Linked DNA regions of Homo sapiens: all the other regions are linked to region 4. Evidence: promoter capture Hi-C in 16 types of primary human blood cells and fetal thymus (Javierre and others, 2016). All regions are on one chromosome and are shown on one strand. The core of a region is centred on a gene start or on the middle of the fragment in contact, and the rest is flanking DNA. Distances in the headings are between cores, read along the strand shown.

Evidence for each region. The method cuts DNA at HindIII sites, captures the fragments that hold promoters and counts their contacts. A CHiCAGO score of 5 or more calls a contact.
Region 1: a contact is called between a fragment that was not itself captured here and the fragment with the promoter of ZNF583 in region 4, in 1 of 17 cell types (naive CD8 T cells). The highest score is 5.4, in naive CD8 T cells.
Region 2: a contact is called between a fragment that was not itself captured here and the fragment with the promoter of ZNF583 in region 4, in 1 of 17 cell types (neutrophils). The highest score is 5.4, in neutrophils.
Region 3: a fragment that was not itself captured here is called in contact with the fragment with the promoter of ZNF583 in region 4 in 1 of 17 cell types (total CD8 T cells); the score reaches 5.9 in total CD8 T cells.
Region 5: a contact is called between a fragment that was not itself captured here and the fragment with the promoter of ZNF583 in region 4, in 1 of 17 cell types (naive CD4 T cells). The highest score is 8.4, in naive CD4 T cells.
Region 6: a fragment that was not itself captured here is called in contact with the fragment with the promoter of ZNF583 in region 4 in 2 of 17 cell types (total CD4 T cells and neutrophils); the score reaches 6.5 in total CD4 T cells.

Annotation. Positions count from the first base shown.
Region 1 is chr19:57,098,002-57,101,182 of GRCh38, reverse strand. No RefSeq gene overlaps it. Among named protein-coding and RNA genes, the nearest start is that of USP29, 20 kb to the left of the region's middle. The HindIII fragment of the contact is 7,444 bases long and covers 1-3,181 here.
Region 2 is chr19:57,244,612-57,248,145 of GRCh38, reverse strand. The region is part of intron 2 of ZNF805 (zinc finger protein 805); the gene reads right to left. Among named protein-coding and RNA genes, the nearest start is that of ZNF805, 5.7 kb to the right of the region's middle. RefSeq lists an enhancer at 1,811-2,105. The HindIII fragment of the contact is 5,225 bases long and covers 1-3,534 here.
Region 3 is chr19:57,168,045-57,171,676 of GRCh38, reverse strand. No RefSeq gene overlaps it. Among named protein-coding and RNA genes, the nearest start is that of DUXA, 2.4 kb to the right of the region's middle. The HindIII fragment of the contact is 3,945 bases long and covers 1-3,632 here.
Region 4 is chr19:56,402,178-56,405,683 of GRCh38, reverse strand. It overlaps ZNF583 (zinc finger protein 583), which reads right to left and starts at 1,352. Exons shown (of 5, transcript NM_152478.3): 1 at 1,232-1,352. RefSeq lists a silencer at 1,119-1,328 and an enhancer at 1,789-1,928. The HindIII fragment of the contact is 8,045 bases long and covers 1-3,506 here.
Region 5 is chr19:57,185,262-57,188,612 of GRCh38, reverse strand. No RefSeq gene overlaps it. Among named protein-coding and RNA genes, the nearest start is that of ZNF264, 4.6 kb to the left of the region's middle. The HindIII fragment of the contact is 5,081 bases long and covers 1-3,351 here.
Region 6 is chr19:57,321,718-57,324,924 of GRCh38, reverse strand. ZNF543 (zinc finger protein 543) reads right to left here. Exons shown (of 4, transcript NM_213598.4): 2 at 1,117-1,243. Among named protein-coding and RNA genes, the nearest start is that of ZNF543, 2.8 kb to the right of the region's middle. The HindIII fragment of the contact is 4,027 bases long and covers 1-3,207 here.

The sequences.
Region 1 (3,181 bases), core at 391-2,890, 700 kb before region 4:
TATGTTGCCTAGGCTGGTCTTGAACTCCTGGGCTCAAACGATTCTCCTGCCTCGACCTCCCAAAGAGTTAGGATTACAGGTGTGAGCCACTGTGCCTGGCCTGATTTATTTTCAACAATTTGAACATATAAAATCCATGCTTAACCTGAGGGCCGTACAGAAGCAAGCGCTAGTCCATATTTGATTCTGCCAAACGCTGCTCTAACTCTGCAGCTGGCTTTCAGTAAGACACATGGAAGTGTTAGATAAAGAGAAAAAAAAAAAAAACAGAAAAGTTCTGCCAGGGAACCCAAGACATTAAATTCCCCTGTTGACTGGGGCGAGGGACTTTAAGCTGTTCCCTTTACACCACAGGCTCCAAAAGGGAGTAGTCTGAAGCCTGGACACACTTATCCACAGACTCATTTGATTTGGTCAGCATGGTCTTTAGGAAGGAATAAATACATGACCTTCTTAAACATAAAATTTGGAAGATTTCACTTAAAGGAATCCAGATTTCTGGGTTTTGTGACCCATGTTCCTATGCGGCAGCCACAGGTTGGAGCAGAAGAGCAGGGAGCCCCTTTATTTATTTATTTATTTATTTTTATTTTATTAATTTTTTATTTTTTTGAGACGGAATCTCGCTCTGTCGCCCAGGCTGGAGTGCAGTGGGGCGATCTTGGCTCACCGCAACCTCCGCCTCCCAGGTTCAAGCGACTCTCCAGCCTCAGCCTCCAGAGTAGCTGGGATTACAGGCATGAACCACTACACCCGGCTACTTTTTGTATTTTTAGTAGAGACGGGGTTTCACCATGTTGGCCAGGATGGTCTTGAACTCCTGACCTCAGGTGATCCACCCGCCTCAGCCTCCCAAAGTGCTGGGATGGCAGGTGTGAGCCACTGCGCCCGGCCAGGGAGCCCCTTTAGATGGGATGGGGAGGGACCTCCGATCAGGGCTGCCCACTCACTCCTCCTCCCTCTGCTTCCCTTCCCTCTTCCATCTCCCTCCCCCATCCCCCCCATCCTTCATTCATCTACCTGAGGTGCCTGACCCTGGTAGACAAGGAAGATATTAAAAATGTTTAACAAGGGTGGGGCAGTAGCCAATCCTGATGAAGCCCTGACCAATGATACACGAGCCCCAGCTGGGAGCTATTGGTACCATCTGTAGCTCCTGTGGACATTGACATTTAAATTGATTTAACCTTTTTTTTATTTTTTATTTTTTGAGACGAAGGCTCACTCTGCCACCCAGGCTGGAGATCTCGGCTCACTGCAACCTCTGCTTCCCAGGTTCAAGCGATTCTCCTGCCTCAGCCTCCCAAGTAGCTGGGGTTACAGGCGCACACCACCATGCCCGGCAAATTTTTGTATTTTTAGTAGAGATGGTGTTTCACCATGTTGGCCAGGCTGGTCTTGAACTCCTGGCCTCAAGTGATACACCCTCCCTCGACTTCCCAAAGTGCTGGGATTACGGTCCTGAGCCACCGCGTCCGGCCAGACTTATAATTTTAAAAAGGAAAAACCAGGGGCACCCCACCGCCTGGGGATCGAGGGGAGCCCAGCATAGGGAGGGAGAGGGAGCCAGGGTTATAACGTCCACATTCATACAACCTCAGCCTTGACCACTACGTGCGGATCATGGCGGTAGCGACCCGGCAGGAAACACAGCGAGCGAGCTGATTTGTGATCATGGTCGGTGCTCCGAAGAACAGACAACGAGGCGTGGAGCGCGTGCCGGGTGCGATCCTGGAAGGCTCCTCAGAGGAGGTGACATCTCGCTGGGCCTGGCGGCCCTGACGTCCAGCGGCGATGGCGGTCCATGGCCACCAGGTGGCGCCGCGAGAACGTGGCTGAAGCAGCTAGGCCGCGTTCCTGCGATCTGACTGTGCAGAGAGCTGTGGCTCCAGGTTTATCTCAAAGCATTTTTCTCAGCAGATGAACTTAGGGAGGGAGGCAGGAGAGCAAATTCCCCTCACTGCCCATGTGTCAGTTTTATTGTACCTTAACGGTAGTCAGTGCTGCAGCAGCCGAGAGCCCGGGCCCCCAAATTTGGGTTTACGGGCTGGCTCCAACCCAAACCAGCGTGTGTGTCCCTGCCATGGGCGTTTTATGTATTTATTATGTATTTGTTTTTCTATTGAGACAGGGTCTCACTCTGTGGCTCAGGCTGGAGTACAGTGGCGCTGTCTTGGCTCACTGCAGCCTCCCCAGCTTGAGCAATCCTCCTGCCTCAGCCTCCCGAGTAGCTGGGACTACAGGCCTGCACCACCACACCCAGCTAATTTTTGTATTTTTTGTAGAGAAGGGTTTTTGCCATGATGCCCAGGCTGGTCTTGAACTCCTGGGCTCAAGTGATCTGCTCACCTCTGCCTCCCAAAATGCTGGGATTATAGATAGGCATGAGCCACCACACTTGGCAATTATTTATTTATTTTTATTTTTACGGTTTTTTAGAGTCAGGGTCTCACTCGTTGCCGAGTCTGGAGTGCAGTGGCAAAATCTTGGCTCACTGCAACCTCTGCCTCTTGGGTTCAAGCAATTATCATGCCTCAGTCTCCTGAGTAGCTGTGACTACAGGTGCTCACCACCACGCCTGGCTAATTTTTGTATTTTTTAGTAGAGATGGGGTTTCACCATGTTGGCCAGGCTGGTCTCGAACTCCTGACCTCAAGTGATCCACCTGCCTCAGCCTCCAAAAGTGCTGGTATTACAGGTGTTAGCCACCGTGCCTGGCCAGTTCACTAATATTGAGATAAATCATACTCGTGTAAGACGCTACTAACAGGGGAAGCTGGGTGCAGGAACAAGGAAAACTTTCTATTCTCTTTGCAACTTTTCGCCAAATCTAAGTCGATTCTAAAATAAAAGTTGATTCTTTTTTATTGTTTATCTGAAATCCATATTTAACCAGGCAATTTGTATTTTTATTTATTAAATTGGGCAACCCCAGTGCAGAGCTAAGGGAGACAGGTGGATTCTCTAACCCAGACACACGTTTTTGAGCCATCAGCGTCTGTGATCCAAGCCGGGAGCCGGCATGAGATCCCGAGTGAGGGAGAGTGATGGAGACCATGGCGTCTGGAGCCGGAGATGCAGGGAGGTGAGCGAGAGCTGTCCGAGCAGTGGCTGAGGGTGTTCACTGCTGGCCGACTTAGTCTCTCCACACCTCAGTACTCTTCTCTGTAAAATGGACACT
Region 2 (3,534 bases), core at 727-3,226, 840 kb before region 4:
CAGGCTGGAGTGCAGTGGCGCGATCTCCGCTCACTCAGCCTCCTGAGTAGCTGGGACTAAAGGCGCGTGCCATCATGCCTGGCTAATTTTTTTGTATTTTTAGTAAAAATGAGGTTTCACTATGATGGCCAGGCTAGTCCTGAATTCCTGACCTCAGGTGATCCACCCGCCTAGGCCTCCCAGAGTGCTAGGATTACAGGCGTGAGCCACCATGCCTAGCCATTAAATGAGGATTCCAGTTGAGGATTTCCTCACGGTATACCCAGGAAGTCCATATCATAATCAACACCATTTTGTTGACAAAGAAACCCAGGCTCGGGGAGGTAAAGTGATTTGCTGAAGAGCACAGAACTGGAGAATGGCTGAGTCAATAAGGAAACCCAGGTCCTGCCATCTCTGTCTGTGCTGTTTAACCACAAAGCTCCACAACGCTGCCCAGAAAGTGCCAGGTCAAGGCATGCCAACGACAATAATCATGATGAGGACGACGGTAATAGTACTGGTGGAAACAGAGATTGTAATGGCTCCCTGCACGCAGCCTGGTCTCCCAGGTGCTGTTCTGAGCCTTTTCATAAAATAACCCTTGACCCTGGCAACAGCCCTGGGATGCGAATATGGTTAAGTCCTCATTTGAACAATGAGAACACTGAGGCACAGGCAAGTTCAGTAACTTGCCCAAGGCCATGGAGTTTTTAAAGAGCAGAGCTGGGGCTGGACACCAGCGTTCTGGCTTCAAACCCTACTCTCCCAAGAAATACAGTAAGGAGGAAACCACGAGCACCAGAGTGGGTGGCAGAGGGTGGTGACGAGGCAGAGATGTGAGCTGGAGGATTCATCCTCAGGGACCAGCGGCCAGGATGAGGGGCAGGTCAGTGACTCCAGACCCCAGCATTTCACGAACCATTAAAATATTTAAAGACTGAACATCCTACTGTGATATGGTGACATAAGGATATTTACAGAAACTTCATATAGCAGCGCAGTGGCTCGCATCTGTAGTCCCAGCTACTGGAGACGGTAAGGTGTGAGGATCGCAGTGAGCTATGATCTTGCACCACTGCACTCCAGTCTGGGAGACAAGAGTGAAACTCCATCTCAAAAAAAAAAAAAAAAGTTCACAAGAGAAGAATTTTTTCTACACAAAAACATTCAGTGATAGCTTCATAAAATGAAGGTGTTTCATCTGTGCTGAGTAAGTTAAACTGGATGAGGGACTCACAGGAGTGGCTAAATTTTCCTTACTTTGCTGAGGACAGGGATCCTGTGAGAATAAATGGAGCATGAACACTGCCTGGAACAGGCCTGAGACACCCAATCAGTGCTCTGGGGATCTGGACTGTTAACTGCTTTTCTTTTTTTTTTTTTTTTTTTGAGACGAAGTCTCGCTCTGTCATCAGGCTGGAGTGCAGTAGCGCGATCTCAGCTCACTGCAACCTCCAACTCCCTGGTTCAAGTGATTCTCCTGCCTCCACCTCCTGAGTAGCTGGGATTACAGGCATGCGCTACCACACCCAGCTAATTTTTGTATATTTAGTACAGACGGGGTTTCACCATGTTGGCCAGGATGGTCGCTATCAACTGACCTCGTGATCTGCCTGCCTTGCCCTCCCAAAGTGCTGAGATTGCAGGCATGAGCCACCATGCCCGGGCTGCTTTTCTTAAAAGTGATCCACTTTTTATTTTTCTTAGATTTCTTCAAAAATGGAATCCTTATCACTCTGGTAAATGGAAAATCCAGAGTCACTTGTCTTGATGGCAGGTAACCATGAAAATGTAGCAATAAATCAAAACAACGTATACAAAAATTAGCTGGGCGTGGTGGCACCTGCCTGTAATCCTAGCTACTCAGGAGGCTGAGGCATGAGAAATGCTTGAATCCAGGAGGCACAGGTTGCAGTGAGCCAAGATCAAACCACTGCACTCCAGCCGAGGCAACAGCGAGACTCTGTCTCAAGACAAACAAACAGTGCTCTTTGGTCCCTGTGAGCTCATGCTGCTTGTTCAGGGCTGTGAGCCTAAGGCTGCTCCCTCTGTAGAAAAGGGGAAATTACCAACAGTTTGCAGGACGTTAAGTCTCAGCACTAAACCAGAGTTTTCCTCAAATGCTAAGGAGACAAGACGAGAAGAAATAAAAGAACAACTTCCTCAAGTGTCTCTCAGCACCAGCTGATGTAGTGTCTGTCCAAGCACTCTCTGAAAAAGAGCTTCTCGCCTTAGCACAATTGACATTTAGGTCCAGGTAATTCTTTGTTTGTGAGATCGGGGGAAGAGGAGGAGAAAGGATCTGTCCTGTGCATTATAAGGATGTTTAGCAGCATCTCCACCCACTAGCTGTCAATGTTATCATCTTAGGTTTTTTTTTTTTTTGAGATGGAGTCTCGCTCTGTCGCCCAGGCTGGAGTGCAGTGGTGCAATCTCAGCTCACTGCAAGCTCCGCCTCCTGGGTTCACGCCATTCTCCTGCCTCAGCCTCCCGAGTAGCTGGGACTACAGGCACCCGCCACCACGCCCGGCTAATTTTTTGTATTTTTAGTAGAGACAGGGTTGCACCGTGTTAGCCAGGATGGTCTCTATCTCCTGACCTTGTGATCCGCCCATCTCGGCCTCCCAAAGTGCTGGGATTACAGGCATGAGCTATCGCACCTGGCCCATCATCTTAGTTTTAACAACCAAAATGTCTCCACACATTGCCCAGTGTCCACTGAAGCTCAACATCGTCCCTGTTTGAGAAACACTAGCTTAGAAAGACATTAAAAAGGTAAAGGGAGGAGGCTATGGTGAGAAAGGGGCCTCCCCAAGATTCGGTGGTCAGGGAAGGGCTGGGTGAGGAGGCAAGTGGTGCTGAGAAGGGGCGGCCATGTGAAATGCTGAATTACCCTGAGAACACTCATCAAAGAGAACAGCAAATGCAATGGCCTGAGGTGGGTGGGCACTTGGGGAAATAGCAAGAAGCCCAGCAAGGCTGCAGCAGAGTGACTTTAGAATCAGAGGATGTGAAGGTGATTGAAGGACGTGAAGGTTGTTTAGAATAACACCTGGTGGGACGGAAGGTCAATGTCTCCTTGGGGCCTGCCTGACTCAACCCTTCTTAGTGAACATCCCACCAACCCTTACACCACAGACTGGGCTGTGGAGCAGATACATGAGCAACCAGGCCCACCCAGGCAGATCCCGCTCTGGAACTCAAAAAAAAAACTGCAGACAGAGGCCAGTCTATGCTGGGCAGTGGGTGAGAGATGGAGGCAAGTATGAGCTGGAGGTGGAGCAGCATTTGCTGCCTCAAACACGCCCCACAGAGGCCAGAGAAACAGACAAGAAATCTGGAGGGGAAGGAGGGGTCACAAACAGTAAAACCTGGGGTGGTTACTCTTCCCCTGAACTCGCTGAGGCAGAAAAAACCATACAGAGTAGACAGTGACATGAGCAGACCCAGACAGAGAAACCAGGACCCCATCGTGGCGGTTCTCAGTTCCTACTTCAACCCCTCATAACATACAGCTGGCAATCCTACCTTTGAGGTCTGCAAAACACCCCA
Region 3 (3,632 bases), core at 622-3,121, 770 kb before region 4:
TTTGTGTTGCTGATGGTGTAGCACAGGTCAGATACTCGCCCTGCAGAAAAGTCAGGTCAGGAATTTAGGATGCAGGATGACTTCTGATTCTTCCCCAGAGGCACTACCTGTGTGCACTGTTGGCCTCCCTTCTCCACGACTTCACCTGCATTTTTATGTACAATTTTAAAGGTTCTCGATATGGAATTGGAAATGGAATCCTGTGTCTTTTGGTAAACATTTACTAAAAGGCATCACATCTTGTTCTCCGTTTTCAGGAAGTTCACTCCTCCTTGTCAGTACTTTGACTAGACAATTAAAATAAACATAGATCCAATTTAGAAGAATGCTATAAAGATACAAAAAACATAAAAACAAAATATTATTTTAAAATACTGAATTAAGAAAACACTTGCAGGACATAGGACAAATGCAGCATAATATTTAAGTCTCAAAGAAATGTTCTACCTAAGAAAGAAGCAAAGAATCTGAAAGCTAATAAAAGAAAAATAAAATATGGCAAATACATTTGATTAAAAGTGTTCAAGCACGCTAGCGCTCAAATTAAAAATAAAACAATGAGATATTATTTCCAGCTCTAAGATTTATAATGATTGAAAATTTGATGGCTGGGCATGGTAGCTCATGCATTTACTGTCAGAGCACTTTTGGAGCCCTAGGGGGTAAGATCGCTTGAGCCCAGGAGTCGGAGGCTGCAGTGAGCCATGGTTGCACCACTGCATTCCAGCCTGGGCGACAGAGCAAGACCCTCTCAAAACAAATAAATAAATAAATACAATTTAAAAAAGAAAGAAAAATATTTTAAATAACTAAACTGAAACAGGTCAGGGTCACTGGTCTCATTGTCTAAGGTGTTATCTAAGCTCGTGGTCTCATGACCAAGAAAATTAAGGAGCGTGGACACAAACAGTGAGGTTGGATCAAAAATAGAAGCAGAGAGTAAAATGGTGGTTGCCGGGGGCTTGAGTGAAGGGGAAATGGGGAAATGTTGGTCAAGAAGTACAAATTTTCAGTTTTGCAAGATAAGTTTTGGGGATTTAAGGTACATAGTGACGTTATTTGACATGTACATTGTGACATTATGTGACATAGTTAACAAATTAGAAAAAAAAATTTTAAATTGGATGATCAGAAATGAAAAAAACAATACTACTTGACATTTGCTAAGAGGATAGATTTTTATTTTTTGCGACAAGGATAGACCTTAAGTGTTCTTCTGCATGGGGGAGAAAAGGATATTTTTTTTAAAAAGTGTTCTGACCGCACACACACACACACACAAAGGGTATAATTTGAGGTGGTTAATACATCAATCAGCTTGATTTGATTATGGTAACCATATCATATTATATGTGTATATCAAAATTCAAATCGTATATTTAAAATATGTATCTTTTTTGTCAACTGTACCTCAATAAAGCTAAAAAGTAAATACAAGGCCCAGGGCAGTGGATCACACCTGTAATCCTAGCACTTTGGGAGGCCGAGGCAGGTGGATCACCTGAGGTCAGTAGTTCGAGACCAGCCTGGCCAATATGGTGAAACCCCATCTCTACTAAAAATACAAAAAATTAGCCAGACGTGGTGGCAGATGCCTGTAATCCCAGCTACTCAGGAGCCTGAGGCAGGAGAATCACTTGAATCTGGGAGGCAGAGGCTGCAGTGACCTGAGATCACCCCACTGCACTTCAGCCTGGGCAACAAGAGTGAAACACTGTCTCAAAAAAAAAAAAAAGTAAATACAATATTTAATTGGAGTAAATATAATATAATGTAACATATATGCACACACACAAAGGGTGTGGTTTGAGGTGGTAAATACATCAATCAGCTTGATTTGATTATGGTAATTATATCTTTTGTGTATTTCAAAATTCAAACTATATTTAAAATATATATCATTTATATCATTTTTGTCAACTGTACCTCAATAAAGCTAAAAAGTAAATACAATATTTAATTGGAGTAAATATAATATAATGTAATATATATGTACACACACACAAAGGGAGTGGTTTGAGGTGGTAAATACATCAATCAGCTTGATTTGATTATGGTAATTATATCTTTTGTGTATTTCAAAATTCAAACTGTATATTTAAAATATATATCATTTATATCATTTTTGTCAACTGTACCTCAATAAAGCTAAAAAGTAAATACAATATTTAATTGGAGTAAATATAATATAATGTAATATATATGTACACACACACAAAGGGTGTGGTTTGAGGTGGTAAATACATCAATCAGCTTGATTTGATTATGGTAATTATATCTTTTGTGTATTTCAAAATTCAAACTGTATATTTAAAATATATATCATTTATATCATTTTTGTCAACTGTACCTCAATAAAGCTAAAAAGTAAATACAATATTTAATTGGAGTAAATATAATATAATGTAATATATATGTACACACACACAAAGGGTGTGGTTTGAGGTGGTAAATACATCAATCAGCTTGATTTGATTATGGTAATTATATCTTTTGTGTATTTCAAAATTCAAACTGTATATTTAAAATATATATCATTTATATCATTTTTGTTAACTGTACCTCAATAAAGCTAAAAAGTAAATACAATAATTGGAGTAAATATAATATAATGTAATATATATGTACACACACACAAAGGGTGTGGTTTGAGGTGGTAAATACATCAATCAGCTTGATTTGATTATGGTAATTGAATCTGGGATTCAATTATATGTGTATATCAAAATTCAAATTGTATATTTAAATATATATCATTTTTGTCAACTGTACCTCAATAAAGCTAAAAAGTAAATATAATATTTAACTGGAGTAAATATAATATGTAATATATCTGTTATATGGTATATCAAGATTATATTATTAATATTATATATTAATATAATATATTTAATGATAATATAATTATAATGAATATCCAATATTGTGTCAATTAATTTAAAGCACATTTATAATTGTAATACTAATGTTCAAGTAGATGTACATATAATTTACATCAAAATATAAACATCAATATAAACAAACAGCAGAAAATTCTGCTCTAGATTTCCAGACAAATTTGGTGAAAAAATATTGTGATGAAATGTCATATACAGAAAAGAAAAACAATTTATCATTGTTTTAATTAAATAAAGTGTAAAATTTTCCTGTTAAATGTTATTTCATGTCATTTTCCTGGTTCGAAATTGTTTCTCCAAAATGGCTTGATATCTGGCCAAATTTTATTTATGGATAGTCAAATATATCAATAAATGAAATTCATATCACTTCTTTATGTGCTCTTAATAACAGTTAAAAAATTACACAAATATAGACATGTAATAAAATTTTCCCTTTTATCCTGCACTATTGTAGATTACAGCTATAAAAAGTGACAGCCACCAGCCAGCTTCCCTCAAGACTGATCAATGACTGATCAATGACTGGTCAATGGTGAGACATCTTTTTTCAATGCGCAGGTACCCTCACTTGCATAACTTGCAGGGTCGTGCACGTGCAGGGTGGGATCTTCTTTTTATTTACAATCTTTATGTTTTGTTAAGATGGACTTTTTACATTACTTAAAATATACATTGCTTTCAAATACTATTTATCTTGATCACAGAATTTTTAGCACCACCTTAAATTTTGTT
Region 4 (3,506 bases), core at 103-2,602:
ACGTGCCCCCAGAGACTGAGAGGGATGGAAAAACTACTGTGCCAGAGGACAAGCAGCCAGCGTGGTCAGCTTTTCAGGCTTAAGGCTGAGGCTCCTGTCTGTCTCTCCCTTTTCAGCTCTCGTCCCTCCCTTTCTCCATCTTTTCCCCTTTATCTCAATCTTTCTGTCTCTCCACCACAACAGCAGTCTCCCAAACCCCAGAGCACACCAGCATCTCCAAGCACCCACACAGCTTCCTGCCCACACAAATCACAGACAACAAACCACATAGTTTCTCATTCTGGCACCTCCCCTGGCAACCTATGGACATGCCCCCACATTGTAGCCCGCCCTGCTCTCACAATGGGTCATATAAGGCCATTCTCAGTCACACTGTCACACTCACTGTCGGGATGACATACAGTGCTAAGTCACACCATCTCCCTCAGTCTCACATAATCACACACACTGTCATGCACAATCTCAAACACTGTCACATACAATCTTAGTCCAACAACAAAAACTCTGTTCACATACAGTTTCACATACAGTGACACAGTCTCACACACTGTCACACAAATTCTGTCGCAGTTTCATGTGGTCCCATATCAACAGCCACACACCGTACACAACCACACATAGCCTCACACACGGTGACATGGTCTCACATACTGTCACAGTCTCATCTAATCCTACACACACGGTCAAGCTCTGTTCACAAAGTCACACACACTGTCACACAGTCTTACATTATCCCACACACACAGGTCACACACACAGTGACATGGTCTTACACACTGTTCACACGTGGTCTACACATAATGACAGTTTAACACTGTCACACATTCCCAGTCTCACACATGGTGACGTGGTCTTAAGCACATACAGTGTCACACAGTCCCACACGGTCCCATATACTGTCAAAGGCTCCCGCATACACCGGGGCAACGGTCTCATACTGTCGCACACATTCTCACACCCAGTCTCATACTGTCACACATAGTCCCACATTTGTCCCACATGGTCTCACACTGACACACATATTCACACACGGCCTCACATTCTCACACTGTCACACACGGTCTCAAATTCTCACACAGTCACACATGGTCTCACACACGATTCCACACTGTCAAACACATTGTCACACACGGTTCCTTAATGTCTCACACATTCTCACACACTGTCACACACGGTCCCACACATGGTGGCATGGCCGCTCCCGGCGTCAGCTCCATCCCGCGCTCCTCACCGCCTCCTCCCTCCAGTGGGCACCTCCTTCGGCGCGGTCCTTGGAGGCCGGGGCTGGGCCAGGGCCCGGGCCAGGGCTCGATCCTGGCCGGCGGCCGCGCTCACAAAGGCGCCGCAGCCCTAGGGCAGGCCGCAGGGGCCGCTGGGAAATGGAGTCCGGGGCCGGCGCGGCGCAGAGGATGCTGGGATGTTGGCCGAGGGCCCCGGGCGGCCGCAGATCCCGCCGCTCAGTTGCGGGTAGTTACTGCTGCGCCCCTTTCCCTAGTAAGCCCACCTCCGCTGGCCTTCAGAATCCCACCCGGACCAGCTGAGCCCTCTCAGGCCGTTCGACTGTCCGCTCCCCCACCCGTTCCACCCGTTCCACCTGCGCAGGCGCAGCTGGTTCAGGTCCCCAAAGGCTGCCAGGCCGGGGTGCCAGCGCGGTGAGGCGCACGCGCAGTGACCGCGTCCGCGCTCCAGCGCTCCGGGTGGGGCTGTGAGTCCATCGCTGAGAAAAGGGAGCTGGAGGACCAGTGTGGAGCCTGAGCCAGCTGGAGAGGGGCCCGGTAGGATGTACGTGTGATTAAGCGCTCTGGCGGCCCGGGCTTTCTCTTTCCCTTTCTGTTTCTTCTCTCTCCGCCTTGCCCTGTCTTTCATTCGCCACTTATTGAGCGCCTGCTGTATCGGGCACTGTCGTGGGCCCTGGGCACACAGCAGTGAACAAGCAGACAAAATCCCCACCTCATGGAGCAGCATTCTAATGCGGGAGGAATTCAATAGGAAAAAATTAATAATAAAGGACACTGATGCATATTGGGAAGTAATGCGTATTATCAAGAAAAGCGAAGCAGAGTATTAAGATCATTCTTTCAGTTCTTCATTCTTTCAGTTATGCCCTCTGAATCAGTGGAAAAAACGCAAGGTGCATTTTTTTCTATTATCTCAACGACAACTAATCATAACAGAAGACTTTTCTGACCAAATATAGGGGAGTTTCCCACACATCTCAAGCAAGCAATGAGTTCAGTGAGTTCTGCAGCGGGCACCAGCTGGGTGTCCTCCAGTTTAATTCCGACGCCGTCTACTTGGAGATGGGTCAGACACCATTCGCTGAGGGCTCAGTCCCCAAGCCTGCCTCCCCCTTCCCACTTCCCACTAAAGTCTAGCCTCTGGAACATCTGACTCCACCACCTTCAAATTGGGATTTTCACCACCCCCTCTTTGCGGTTCGATATTTTGCTAGAGTGGCTCACGGAACTCAGGAAACACTTATGTTTACTAGTTTATTATAAAGGATATTACAAATGATATAGATGAAGAGATGCGTAGGGCAAAGTACAGAAAAAAGGGTGTTGCACCTTCCAGTAACCTCCACATGTTCAGCTGGGTGGAAGCTCTCTAAACCCTGTCTTTTGGGAGTTTTACAGAGGCTTCATTACATAGGCATGGTTGATTAAAATCCCGTCCCCTCCTTAGGGTTGGGGGTGGGGTTGAATGTCCCAACCTTCTAGTCATGTCTTGGTCTTTCCATAACCAGTCCCCATCCTGAAACTCTATAGGGGTTGCCAGCTGTCAACTCATTAGCATACAAAATGAGTTTTTACTGTTACTTTGTAGTTTCTAAGGATTTTAGAAGTTCTATGCTAGGAAGATCAAATATATATTTCACAATATCATACTCTTATTCCTATTCTTCAATCTGTCTTTGAAAATATTTTATAAACTCCTATCTCTAGTTTATCTCCCAATCCTGTACCATCCCTTCCAAAATCCTGTTGTGCCCTTCAATTGCTTCATTTAATTGTCTGACCAAAGTTGCCAGTGACAAAGAGCATCATATAAGCTGGGAATTTTATTTGAGGAAATTAAACAAACGCAACTATGATATCAGCAAAAAATACTAACTGAAACTTTTTTTTGAGACGGAGTCTTGCTCTGTCACCCAGGCTGGAGTGCAGTGGCGCAATCTCAGCTCACTGCAAGCTCCACCTCCCAGGTTCATGCCATTCTCCTGCCTCAGCCTCCCGAGTAGCTGGGACTACAGGCACGTGCCACCACGCCTGGCTAATTTTTTTGTATTTTTAGTAGAGACGGGGTTTCACCTGTTAGCCAGGATGGTCTCAATCTCCTGACCTCCTGATCTGTCTGCCTCAGCCTCCCAAAGTGCTGGGATTACAGGCATGAGCCACCGAGCCCAGCTGAAACATTGTTTATAATAAAATGTTGAACATAAACAATATACCTACTGTCATGGGTAGCAACTAGATAGGGCTTGTATCAAAGGCGGTAAAGAAAAC
Region 5 (3,351 bases), core at 342-2,841, 780 kb before region 4:
CAAACAACCACATTGCCGTGAATTAAGAATATTCACAAATAGTTTCTGAATTCTGGAGAAATCAGGCAGAGAGAGAAATAGCCCTCAAATTTTGTTTACAAATGTATATTCAATTGTTAAAGGCTATAAATAGCTGGAAAGAAAAAAGTTTCATAGAGACAGAAAGTAGATTTACAAAAAAAGTTCTCCTGACTCAAAAACAAAACAAAAAGAATCAGCAATGTTTCAAACACACACAAAAAATAATAAAATAAATTCAGTACTTGAAATAAATCTCTGTGTTTGTGTGTGTGTGTTCCATTTCTCCCTAATTCCATTTCTCAACTGCATGAATCCTTAACTCATGAAAGATACTTTTTACCCTCTTGGCTCCACAGTTAATGGAGAAAAAAAAATCATCAACAGTGACTTCTAAGATGGCTTAATATACTATATAATAAAATATTTTTATTTATCATGAAATAAATTAGTACAGTCCATGAAACTCCTGCTCTGCTTCATATTGCATAAACATATGTATACATAATTATGTATTTTATGAATATATCAGCCTTCTAATTAGAGTCCTGGAAGTTTTCTCTCTAGGCTGATAGGACAATCTCCAAAGTTACCAGAAACTTGAATTCAAGTGTTCTTTTTATGAACTCTCTCAAAGAAGCCCTGAACTGTAGCTGACTGTAAGCCACCTTTGGAGAAGACTCAAAGTCAAACAATAATTGTGGATGACAAAAGTCTTAGGACAACCATAGTTAAAAAACAATGGACAAGGAAATTTGGTTATTTCTGTGACAAACGATTATGACAAATGTACTTTTCTCAAGTTTTAAGAGTGGGAGGGTCAATTTCTAGGTTCAGTCAAAAGAAACCACAAACATCAGTTCTATGGGACAACTGGGTTGGTTTTCACAAGAAACTGACAAGCTCACATTAGGAGTTCTAACTGTCCTCCCAGAAAGGTATATTAAGCAATCTTAGAAGTCACTATTGATGATTTTTATTTTCCATTAACTGTAGAGTCAAGAGGATAAAAAGTATCTTTCATGAGTTAAGGATTCATGCAGCTGAGAAATGGTATTAGGGAGAAATGGAATACACACGCGCGCACACGCGCACACACACACACATATTTTACTGCAAGAAATGGGGGTGGTGTGCGGTGGCTCATGCCTGTAATCCCAGCACTTTGGGAGGCTGAGGAAGGAGGATTGCTTGAGTGTAGGAGATCGGTCAGAGTGGTGGGAGAAGCTATAAGAAAAGGACGCAAACCTTCTGAAAGGTCAGAAGTCTCTGCATAGCTTCACGGGAGAATAAGCTGAAAGCAGCTGTTCTCTTACCCTAAGGCAGAGGGCAAGGAGTAGGTACAAGGAAGTGTAGGGGAATTTAACATAAACAGGCTTGTTTACTTATGTTAACTAGGAACCAACATTTGATCATTCACGAGTGAGGCTGCCCCCAAAAGGGGGAACAATAATGTTAATTACCCACAGACTGTGTTGGCTCCAGGCTTTTGGCATTATGTCTGTACTGAATAAAAGCAAGCAGTCCCAGCTTATCAAGACTGCTCACTCTTCAGCAGTCCCCTAGCTGCTCTTACACTACATACCTGTGTCTGAGTACTCCTTTCATCCATCGCTCAGCCAGGGTCTACAGGACAGACCCGGCTCTTGAGGCCGGGAGTTAAGAGACTAGCCTGTGCAGCATAGTGAGACCATTCCTCCACAATAATTTTTTTTTTTGAGACAGAGTCTCGGCACTGTCACCCGGGCTGGTGTGTAGTGTTGCAATCTTGGCTCACTGCAACCTCCATCTCCTGGGTTCAAGCAATTCTCCTGCCTCAGCCTCCTGAGTAGGTAGGATTACAGGTGCCCGCCACTGTGCCTGGCTAATTTTTTATATCTTTTAGTAGAGATGGGGTTTCACTGTGTTGGCCAGGCTGGTCTTGAACTCCTGACCTCATAATCCGCCCACCTTGGCCTCCCAAAGTGCTGGGATTACAGGTGTGAGCCACCCACCTTGCCTACAATAAAAATTTTAAAAAAAGATAGAAGAAGAAATGGGCTATGTGATTGCAGGGACAGGCCAGTCCCAAATCTGTAGGCTAGAGTTCAGGCCAGCAGAATTGAAACGTGGATAGGAGCTGAAGGTGCAGTCTTGAGGCAGAATTTCTTCCCCAGGGAACCCTGTTTTTCTCTTAAGGCCTTTCAACTGATTAGATAAGAACCACCTACATTATCAAAATAACTGATTATAGATGTTAACCGTTTCTATGAAATACCTTCATAACAATACCCTGGTCAGTGTTTAATACAATTTCTGGGTAGTACAGCCTAAACAAGTTTACACATATAGTTGGCAATCATACTCTACCCCTTGTCACCTTAAACCATCTTTAATCTTCAAATAAATACAGTAAAAAAGGCTTATTTTGGCCAGGTGTGGTGGCTCACACCTGTAATCCCAGTACTTTGGGAGGCTGAGGTGGGTGGATCACTCGAGGTGAGAAGTTCGAGACCATCCTGGCAAACATGGGGAAGTCTCTACTAAAAATACAAAATTAGCCAGGCGTGGTGGCACACACCTGTAATCCCAGCTAGTCAGGAGGCTGAGGCAGGAGAATCGCTTGAACCCAGGAGGCAGAGATTGAAGTAAGCTGGGATCGGGCCACTGCACTCCAGCCTGGCGACAGAGCGAGACTCCGTTTCAAAAGAAAAAAAAAAAAGATTAAAAAAAATAGAGATGGGGGTCTTAATATGTTGCCCAAGCTGGTCTTGAATTCCTGGCCTCAAGCAATCTTCTCACGTTGGCTTCCCAAAGTGCTGGGATTACAGGCGTGAGCCACAGCACCCAGCCCTGGATATTATATGCTTGCTTGAAAGCCTGTGGCAGGAAATCCACTTCCTACCCCAATCTCCACATGGCTCAGCCCCTCATCTCCCTATAGACTTTGATCTATGTCACATTCTAAATAAGCTGTTTCCTGATCATTCTAATGAAAATTGCAAACAACTCCCCAAACTCTGACACCCTGATCCACCTTACTCTCCTTTTCCTTCTTTTTGTTATAGCACTGGTTAACTTATCATGTCTATTTCTGTATTATAATTATTGTTTATTTCTGACTTTTCATCCAGAATGTTAGCTCCATGAGGGTAAGCGTCAGTGATGATTTTGTTCACTGCTGGATCCTAAGTTTTTTTTTTGTTTGTTTGTTTTTTTAATTGAGACAGGGTCTTGCTCTGTCACCCAGGCTGGAGTGCAGTGGTGCGACCTCAGTTCACTGCAGACTTGATCTCCCAGGCTCAATCGATCCTACCACCTTAGCCTCCCAAGTAGCTGGGACTACATGCAGCT
Region 6 (3,207 bases), core at 203-2,702, 920 kb before region 4:
AACACTCAATTAAATTTAGTCATTAGTTTAGAAAAGAAATAACATATTTGAGATACTGAGTCTCCATTCAGGAGAAAGGTAAGTTTCTTCACTGACCTAAGGCTTTTTTTTTACATTCTAAGCAAAGCATTACATTGCTACTCCTATGGTCCCTGCATGAAAAATTCTATTTTAGGATTTCTTCACAGGATGCACATTAAGAATGTACTGCAATCAGGACCACATTATAGATGAAGAGATCGAGGCTCAGGCAGATAAAGTGACTTGCCAAAATCTGGGAAATGGCGAATGGCCAAGCCAAAATGTACACCTGAGTCTAGTCATCAAAAGCATCTGGCCAATTTAACTAAAAAACTATACAAAGTTGTTCCAAAAACTGCGGAGTCCAAGTGTGATACTGCTGATTATGAGGACAATGATTTAGACAGCAGTGACAATAGTGACAGCAACAGAGGTCACAATTGCTAACCTGCGCCCAGCCACCTATCACAACACACTCTACTGAACCATTTGCCCTCACACTAGCCCTATGAAACAAATACTATATTGGCCTTTTTTTTTTTTTTTTTTCAGACGGAGTCTCTCTCACACTGTCGCCTGGGCTGGAGTGTAGTGATGAGATCTCAGCTCACTGCAACTTCCGCCTCCCGGGTTCAAGTGATTCTCCTGCCTCAGCCTCCTGAGTAGCTGGGATTACAGGCACCCGCCATCACACCCGGCTAATTTTTTGTATTTTTAGTAGAGACGGGATTTCACCATGTTGCCCAGGCTTGTCTCAAACTCCTGACCTCCTGATTTGTCCGCGTCGGCCTCCCAAAGTGCTGGGATTACAGACATGAGCCACTGTGCCTGGCCTGGCCCTTTTTATTCATGAGAAAAACTGAGGCACAGAGGGATTCCTTAACTTGCCCAGGAACACAGGGATCATGAGCAGTGGAGATGGGAGTGGACTCCTGGACACCAGACCCTGGTCTCCCAAGTGCTACGCTCAGAGCCAATGGTGAACACCCCTGCGTGGTGCCAGGAGCCTCAGAACAAGTGGGCTGTGGAGGAGAGAGGGGAACATGAGTAGGAGAACTCAATCCTAAGGGAGCACAGGACCAGAAGGGGCCTTACCCAGAGACATGAGAAGTCCGCAGGTCTCCAGCATCACCTCCTGATACAAGGTTCTCTGGGCTGCATCCAACTGTCCCCACTCCTCCTGGGTGAATGTCACAGCCACATCCTCAAAGGTCACAGACACCTGGAAAATTAAACAGAGATAGTAGTGTTTCCCTTGGAACTGTGGAATACAACTAGAACTTGTCACTTCAGCACTGCAAAAGATGCGCAGTGACCCAAGAATCAAATCACCAAGCATCTCTAGAGGGCCATGATCTGTGCCAGGCATGAGGGGAATGTGGACATTGCCTTGGATAAATTACAGCAGTGTCGGTCAGGCGCGGTGGCTCACGCCTGTAATCCCAGCACTTTGGGGGGCCATGAAGGGCAGATCACGAGGTCAGGAGATCGAGACCATCCTGGCTAACATGGTGAAACCCCGTCTCTGCTAAAAATACAAAAAAATTAGCCGGGCGCGGTGGCGGGCGCCTGTATTCCCAGCTACTCGGGAGGCTGAGGCAGGAGAATGGCGTGAACCCGGGAGGCGGAGCTTGCAGTGAGCCGAGATCGTGCCACTGTACTCCAGCCTGGGTGACAGAGCGAGACTCGTCTCAAAAAAAAAAAAAAAAATTACAGCAGTGAAGAGAGAGAAGCCTCCTATGCAGAAAGCCACTTCACACAGAAATAAGGTTAGGACAATCCTAAGGGGACTGAGAGGCAAGACAGTAAGTGCTCTGAGACATCAGAGGAATGGGAAAGAATAATAACAAAAACAACACCAGCAACAACAACAAGAACAGCACCTGAGTCTTACCGATCCTCCCTGTGAGCCTGCCTCATGCTAATGGCTTTACATGCCATGGTAAAGTGACTAAAAGTCCCCAGCTCAGGAGTCAGACTCCTGAGGTTTAAAACCAAATTCCTGAAATCAACACAAGCCTGCTATGTGACCTTGGAAATCTCATTTCATTTATCTGAGCCCTGATGTCCAGGTCAACACAACAGGGTTTTCCACTTCACCAAGAATAGTCAAAAGATCTGAAGAAAAGCTGTAAAGGAAACACTGGGGCAAAGGGCCACAGCTCCTGAGTTCACCATCATCATCTCCATGTCACACTCAGAGACTTGAGGTCCAGGACCTCCACTAGTCTACCCAAAGTCACATCTCTTATCAGGAGAGACAGAATTTGAACCCAGGGCCCTATGGTCTATGTTCTAATCATGCAACCCGACACTCCTTCATTAGCAAAGTTAATGCACAGTTAATGAGGATGGGAAACATTGAAATACATCCATTTGAGCCACCCTGAAAATATTTTCAGGATTTTTTTTTTTTTTTTTGAGACAGGGTCTCAATATTTTGCCCAGGTTGGGCTTGAACTCATGATCCTCCTGCCTTAGCCTCCCAAGCTGGATATACAGACACATGCCACTGTGCTGGGGTTAGCCACTTGAAATATTTTCATGGACCTGGGCAGAGCAGCATAGTCATAATCACCTACCTCACAGAAGAGTCACCTGAGGTGGTGGCACCTGCCTCAAAAGTGGCAGGGCCTGGACCTGCATCTGCTGCCTCGGACACTTCTGGGCCTCACAGATGCCCATTCTCATAGGAAGAATCCACAACGAGCTATCACTACCTTTTCCTGTTTGAGTCCTACCAACAAGTATCCCTGAGGTCAGGATACTTCAGGAGCAAGGAACAAGAGTCACAGAGGACACAGCAGGTTGTAGCCATGAGAACATGGGCCCCTGACTGGCTATGTCTGTCCTGGCTAAGGAGGAAGGCACATCTAGCAAAAGACCACAAAATCTTGTGTCCCAAGACATGTGTCAGCTGGTATAGGAGAAAACCACTCAGGAAACCACTGTGGAAGCCACACGGGTCCCCTGCGGACTCCTTAAACAACCAATAAACCATTTTTTTTTAGTCCACACAGTTCCACCAGCATGAAATGCCATGACTCCTCATGTCCAAGACCACCTGCTAGAAGGAAGCCTGCTCAACTTGCAAAGTTTACTTTAGGTGTCACCCCCAGGCCTCCCTAACCATTGCGGGCAAAGAAGAGGGTAAAAACACAGGCTGTGATGGTAGACACACCAGTT